Linked DNA regions of Homo sapiens: region 1 is linked to region 2. The links are contacts of gene promoters, found by promoter capture Hi-C in human tissues and cell types (Jung and others, 2019). All regions are on one chromosome and are shown on one strand. The core of a region is centred on a gene start or on the middle of the fragment in contact, and the rest is flanking DNA. Distances in the headings are between cores, read along the strand shown.

The links. The method cuts DNA at HindIII sites, captures the fragments that hold promoters and counts their contacts. A contact is called where the count stands out against the background at its distance.
Region 1: a contact is called between a fragment that was not itself captured here and the fragment with the promoter of ZNRF1 in region 2, in 1 of the 25 tissues and cell types used here (dorsolateral prefrontal cortex).

What each region holds. Positions count from the first base shown.
Region 1 is chr16:74,302,034-74,305,598 of GRCh38, forward strand. PSMD7 (proteasome 26S subunit, non-ATPase 7) reads left to right here. Exons shown (of 7, transcript NM_002811.5): 5 at 179-259; 6 at 2,270-2,361; 7 at 3,256-3,565. Among named protein-coding and RNA genes, the nearest start is that of PSMD7, 7.0 kb to the left of the region's middle. The HindIII fragment of the contact is 3,140 bases long and covers 1-3,092 here.
Region 2 is chr16:74,997,774-75,001,607 of GRCh38, forward strand. It overlaps ZNRF1 (zinc and ring finger 1), which reads left to right and starts at 1,251. Exons shown (of 5, transcript NM_032268.5): 1 at 1,251-2,322. The coding sequence starts at 1,899. RefSeq lists silencers at 1,043-1,562, 1,963-2,272 and an enhancer at 3,063-3,122. The HindIII fragment of the contact is 18,053 bases long and covers 1-3,834 here.

The sequences.
Region 1 (3,565 bases), core at 273-2,772, 700 kb before region 2:
ATCGAAAAGCAGAAGAAATGATGAGATCATTTGAAGCATAAATGCATTTTTGCTGAATATTCTGGTTCATTTCTAATTGATTACAAGAAATAGCTTTAGTAATTGTGAGAAGAATGCCTGAAATTACCCCTTTTGTGCTGGGCGTGAGATGACTTGCTAAGATGTGTTTCTCTGCCAGGTATTGGTCATCATTGATGTGAAGCCGAAGGACCTAGGGCTGCCTACAGAAGCGTACATTTCAGTGGAAGAAGTCCATGATGTAAGTCATCTTGCTATGAACCTGGGAGGTTAGACTGCTACTTATTGGGTGATTAGCTTTTTTTTTTCAATTTTCAGGTCAACAAATCCTTTGTCTCCGTAACAAAAGAAGGTAGTTTTTTTCCCTTTGACTTTTTTAATCACCACATTTTGGAAATGGAGAGGAACATAGAAATCTAAATTCCAACCAGGCACAGTGGCTCACCCAGTGCTTTGAGAGGCCGAGGTGGGAGGATTGCCTAAGCCTAGGAGTTGAAGACCAGCCTGGGCAACATAGCAAGACACCTACAAAAATAAAAACATTAGCCAGGCATGATGGTCCATGCCTGTATTCCAAGCTACTCAGGAGGCTGAGACGGGAATATTGTTTGAGCCCAGGAGTTCAAGGTTACAGTGAGCAATGATCACACCACTGCATTCCAACCTGTGCGACAGTTGAGACGCTGTCCCCCAAAAAACCAAGAAATCCAAATTCCCCTTTTACAAATGAAAAGTTTAAGGGATGAATTACGGTCTCCTTTTGAATTTAGATATGCAGTATTTATCCTTACTTTCAGTTTTAAGATTTAGAAAAGGGTATTTTAGGATAGCTCTGTGCAAATGTTCCTTGCATCGAGCTCTGTCTTCCTGGGGCTTTTCTCTTTGCCTGGCTACCAGGGAGCTTAGAGCCAAATGTATTGCCTAATTGCAGTAGGGCTTTCATCCCTGGTTTTGACCCAGTTGTTTTTAGTGAATTTTTCTCCTGCCTCTTTAGAAAAGGAATTGAGGTTGCTCGTACACATGCACCCCAGTGAAGCAAGGTGTTTTTAGTAGGGGATAAAGGGGACATATGGGTCATGTTACAAGGTGAAGCTCAAGAAGAATTAGTGCCTGTAAAGGTTACCAAGAAATCCCACAACACTGTTAAAGGTTCTGACCATCCTGGCATCCAAAGCAAAGAGGAGAATGCCCCTTGCAGGATTAACACTATCCTAAATAAAATAATCACGGCTAACTTTTATAGTACTTAGTGTGAGTTGAGTGACTTTCCCAAGGTCTTGGAGCTCGCCTATTACATACATGGCAGAGCCAAATTTGAACCCAGGTAGCCTGGCTGTGGAGCCTGTACTCTTACCACTATGCTGTCCTTCCTCCCTTACAGACAGTTTACAGCCTTTTGACAGGAGACGTACAGCCTCTTCTGGCACAAGGTCTGAGAAAAGTATCTTCGAAGTCCCTTCAGGATGTCACTGGGTGACCACCATGAACCATGTCCCCAATGGATCCTTTGATTAATTCAGACCACCAGAAAGCCAACTATTCTGATTGCATTGGTTTGGGCACTGTGGAATCGTTTGATCCAAGAGACAAAAAAGGGCTAAAAGTTTTATTTTCTGGCATGAACTTGCTTCAGTACAGATATTCTGTATATTGTCCATTCTAGAAAGAACTATATACTTTTTTTTTTTTTAAGACAATCTCACTCTGTTGCTCAGGTTGGAGTGCAGTGGCGTGATCTCGACTCACTGCACCCTCCACCTCCCAGGTTCAAGTGATTCTCGTTCCTCAGCCTCCAGAGTAGCTGGGATTACAGGCGCCCGCCACCACACCTGGCTAGTTTTTGTATTTTTAGTAGAGAGGGGTTTTCGCCATGTTGCCCAGGCTGGTCTCGAATTCTTGGCGTACCAAAGTGCTGAGATTACAGGTCCGTGCCTGGCCAAAGCGGTATACTTTTAAGAATCAACCTGAGACCTCCCTGTGCGTTCATGCCAAGTGTGGGCTTGAGGGAATTTCCAGATTTTTCTCAACGCACAGTGCCCCAGCAGACTGCATCACTGAGCAGCACCACAGTGATGTTAGCTTTGAAGGCTAAGCTTTCAAAGTAAGCCTTACCCACCCTTGCCATAGAAAATTCTCAGTCATGCACTCATTAAATGAGCTGACTTAAAGCAAAAGACTCAGGGTGCGAAAAGGAACACATGTCAGTTCGTTTGTGGAAAATAAATAATTATAGTTAGGCTTCCTCTCCCAGGATGGAACTCCAACCTCGAAAACATTTGAACACGTGACCAGTGAAATTGGAGCAGAGGAAGCTGAGGAAGTTGGAGTTGAACACTTGTTACGGTGAGACCCTAGTACAGCATCAAAATCATTCACTGCCCGAGAGGTCACACAGTGTAAGGAAGAGGTCTGTGTCGGGAATATGGAGACCTGGGGTCTCGTCCTGGCCGTCCACTAACAAGTCTGCCATTCTGAGCAAATCACAGTCCCTTTCCAGACCTTTGTTTTATTGTCTGTAAATTGAAGTGTTTGAACTACATCAACTGTAAAATGTCTTGAGTTACAATTTATGACTTTGTGGATAGCATACCTTGTCTGGAAACTATAATGTTGACTGACGGGAAGAGAGGTATGAAATAAATGCAGGCCTGCACTCTCCACTAGGTGTCCTTCTCAACAAATGTAGCCCATTTTCTGGAGAGAATCTTCATCTTGGAGTAGCTTTTGTTTTAAAATCCTATATCTATTATAATCCTTATTTGAAAAAGGTTATAGTTTTATCAGTCAATGAGGTTCCTTCTAGTTCTAAAAATTACCATCTTAGTTAAGCTTCTCAATATTCTGGAGATGCATGTAGAGAAAATGCCATCCTTTTAGGAACAGGAAAGCTGAGAGAGACAGCTTCAGTACAAGGTTACCCAGAAAGTTATTGGTAGATCTGAACTGTTGACCTAAGCAATTTTTTTTTCCTTAAGTGGAAATGGTTTTATTTTAGCTCCCTTTTATAATTGTTTTTTGAAAAATGTCCTGTGATGAGAAAGATAAAATGTGTTCCAAATGATAACGAAATTAAGGTAATTGATAACGAAATCTTTATCAAATGGGGAAGTGACATTTTTCTTTTAAAAACTTGCCTCACCCAACAAAGCTAGGAATTTTCTTAGAATGTAAGAACTTGCCTGATAACATGGTACCCTGATGCCTTTTCCTGCCCTTTTTAACTGTGGGTTATTACAGAGATATCAAAGACACGACGGTGGGCACTCTGTCCCAGCGGATCACAAACCAGGTCCATGGTTTGAAGGGACTGAACTCCAAGCTTCTGGATATCAGGAGCTACCTGGAAAAAGTCGCCACAGGCAAGCTGCCCATCAACCACCAGATCATCTACCAGCTGCAGGACGTCTTCAACCTGCTGCCAGATGTCAGCCTGCAGGAGTTCGTCAAGGCCTTTTACCTGAAGACCAATGACCAGATGGTGGTAGTGTACTTGGCCTCGCTGATCCGTTCCGTGGTCGCCCTGCACAACCTCATCAACAACAAGATT
Region 2 (3,834 bases), core at 1-2,500:
AGCCTGGGAGGAGCAAGGCTCCGTCTCAAAAAAAAAAAAAAAGAAAAGAAAAAAAAGAAAAAGAAAAACAGGGCGGGCGCGGTGGCTCATGCCTGTAATCCTAACACTTTGGGAGGCCAAGGCAGGTGGATTACCTGAGGTCAGGAGTTCAAGACCAGCCTGGCCAATACGGTGAAACCCCGCCTCTACTAAAAATACAAAAAATTAGCCAGGTGCAGTGTGGCATGTGCCTGTAATCCCAGCTACTCGGGAGGCTGAGGCAGGAGAATCACTTGAATCCGGGAGGCGGAGGTTGCGGTGAGCCGAGGTTACGCCACACCACTCCAGCCTGGGTGACAGGGCGAGATTACGTCTCAAAAACAAAAACAAAACAAAACAAAAAAAACAGTTGTTCAATAAATGAATGTGAATATAGGAGAAAGACGGCTTGAGGTAGCAAAGGAACACTCCCTTGCAAATGATTCAGGCTTGGTCAACAATACACCTATTGAGTACCCACCGTGTCCTTGGCCCGTGGTGAGGGCCGAAACACAGCACATGGTAAACAAAACAGGGCTCCAGCCTTGGACAGAAGGTTTCTATAATCACTTCTAGCTGCGTTGTTCTATTTCCATACCCATATCTATTCACTTTTTATGGTACATCTATTGATTCTGAAAATTACATTTTAGCTAAGGAATCTACTCATTTGCTTAAGCCCAAAATAGGAAGTTATGATCTAGTGTCAGCAAAACGCCGGATTCACAAGTGTCCCCATGGCGCTGTTTACCCCCAAATAACTAAACCCCGCCAAATGTTGAGATTCCGGACGTGAGGGGTGCTTGGATGGGGAACCCCCGAAAGAATGGACATCACGTCCACCAGAGGGTGCTGTGGGGGCAAATTTGTGCCAGGAGGGGAGCTCGACCGGTGACCCTCAGAGCCAGGTAGGCGTAAGGAGTAAATCTCCTTCTTCCCGGTGTTTCCTTCCCACCCCCTCGAACCATTGCTGCCCCTCCCCCATACTTGGTTCCCCCTGAATAATTTGCCACTTTCGGGGACTTAAGAAGTGTTTGCTTTTGAAAGACATCTGGTTTCTGTGGCTAACGCCCAGTGGTCAGGCCGCCCAGGTCACAGGCCGGCCGGGGGCGGGCGGTGGGTGGGGACTGCTGGGGCGTCAGCGGCCCAGGCGCCGCAGGGACCGCGAAAGGGTTAACCCGGCGGGGGGAGGGGGAGGGGGCGCGGGCCGCGCCTGCGCTCTGCCGCCCTCCATTGTCTCCACGGCGGCGAGGAGCGCCGGCGAGCGCAGCCCGGGACCGAGCGGGGCGGCGCGGCTGGCGGGGCCGGCGGCGGCTGAAGCGAGAGCGCGACGCGACGCGACCGCGGCTTCCCGAGCTGCGCCTGGCCGCCCAGCGCCGCGGCCCGCCCGAGGCCTGGAGGGGTCCGGGCCGCCGTCCATGGTCGCGGCGTCCTGAGGCGGGGGACGCGCCCGGCGCCCCCGGCCCTCCTCCGCCTCCTCCCGCGGGGCGGGCGGCCTCCTCCGGCGCCTCCCCGCGCCCGCCCGCCGCTCGCCGCCGCCTCCCTCCCTCCTTCCCTGCGGCTCCCCCGGCTTTCGGAGCCCGGGGGCGGCCTGTGGCGCGCGGAGCCCGCGCCGGACTGCGCCTCTTTGGACCTTGAGGGGAAACATGCGTTTGCCTTGGATCGTTTGAAATTCTGAGTTTGGGATCCCCGCCCGCCCGCCTGCCTCTTCCGCCCCGCGGGTTTTTTCCTTTTTTCCTTTTGCTTTTTTTCCTTTTCTCCCTCCGGGTCTCCTTTTTGACTCCCTCCCCCTTTATGCTCGCCCAGCCCTCCCCCTGCTGCTGAGAAGTGGGGGAGGGTCTCGGCCTCCAGGTTCCCGCCCCACCGGGGCCCGGGCGAGCATGGGGGGCAAGCAGAGCACGGCGGCCCGCTCCCGGGGCCCCTTCCCGGGGGTCTCCACCGATGACAGCGCCGTGCCGCCGCCGGGAGGGGCGCCCCATTTCGGGCACTACCGGACGGGCGGCGGGGCCATGGGGCTGCGCAGCCGCTCGGTCAGCTCGGTGGCAGGCATGGGCATGGACCCCAGCACGGCCGGGGGGGTGCCCTTTGGCCTCTACACCCCCGCCTCCCGGGGCACCGGCGACTCCGAGAGGGCGCCCGGCGGCGGAGGGTCTGCGTCCGACTCCACCTATGCCCATGGCAATGGTTACCAGGAGACGGGCGGCGGTCACCATAGAGACGGGATGCTGTACCTGGGCTCCCGAGCCTCGCTGGCGGATGCTCTACCTCTGCACATCGCACCCAGGTGGTTCAGCTCGCATAGTGGTGAGTCCGCGGGTGGTGGAGGCCTCGGAGGGAGGGCGCGCCGGGGCGCCCCAAGCCTTCGCGTGCGTGCCAAGGTTTGGGAATGTAGTGCACGACCGGGATCTGTCTGCATTCCCTTTGGTTCCCGATGCCAAGGGATAAATGGGATACCTACCGTCTGGAAACTAGGCTTTCTGCGAGGCTGCGGAGCCTGGCGATTTAGGGACTCACGGCGTGTGTTCACTTGTGGAAGGGCAGAGCGAAGCCTACCTATTGGAGTTCCATTTATTGGCATCACCCTCCTCAGAGAAGAGGTCGTGTCTGGCTGAGAGCAAGTCAGCCTGGGTACTTCCATTCTGCCACTGCAGCACTGTGCCTGCCTCACCGGTAACGGAGAGATGGAGCCAGTTGGAGCAAGCAGTGTCTCCTAAACAGAGTGTGTGAAAATGAAATAAAATCAGGGGCAAGTGATGCCTGGATTAGGGCTCTCACTCTTGCTGGGAGAGAGAGGTGCCCAGTTTTGCCACCCTGCTGGAGATCTGTTTGAAATGTTTAAAATGGAGCAGCCGGCAGGCGGCTGGCATAGACAGGTGTGGCTGCTGTACGGAGGGCCCAGCCGGCGAGTCTCGCGGGGGCTTTGCAGGACCCGGGCTGTGGTCACCCGTACTGCATGCAGCAGGCTTGGCTCCGCGACTCTCGCCTCCCTCCATCTTTTTTTCTTCTGCTCCATGCTAAGTGCTTGGTCTTCCCGTGAATCTGCATCTTTTTGTAACAGGGAGCCTGTCACGGTGGGGCATTATTGCCTGGCTGTTGGCACATGACTGGGGAAAAGGAGGATTCAGAGAATCTGGATGAATTCATTTTATGAACTTCTGGTGACAGGCCAGCAAAAGGTTGGAGGGGGATTTCCCAGGCTCCTAGCGGGAGGGCAAAAAAGGCCTGGCAGGAGGAAAACAGGTCTGTCTGCTAGGTCAGGCATCTAGAAAATTGGCCAAAAGGGATGTGGGGGCCGCTATTTGCTAATTGGCAAGTTGAGTGATGAAGTTACATCTTAAGATTCTTTTGGGTGAGTTGGGAAAATTTAGATAGTGTAGGGGAAAGATTGCTCCTGCCTTTAGGGTACTTTATGGAGGGTAATATCTGTTGGATCACTCTTTTAACTACTGTGAAATAGGGTTGACTTTTGGGGTATCTCTTTCCCCCCCCCTGCAAATAGCCTGGGGTTTGTTTTCATTTGGTTTGGTTTTTTGTCAATTCTGTAAACTTTAATTTGTGAAATAGTGTTGGGGGAGAAACGATTAGTGACTAATTTAGGGTAACACTTAGAAGTAGCTTGTGAATTGTTAGGATGATATTTTAATCTCTGACAGACCTCCGGATATCATTGGAGCTTTTCTGACCTCATGGAACTCTGCCCTGAGTGAGAAGCAGGACATGATTGCCTTTGGCTCTTTCAGGCATTTGATCAAAATTAGGCATTTTGAAATTAATAATTTTTCCTATGGAATTTAGTCCAGAGAGTTAGCCATATTT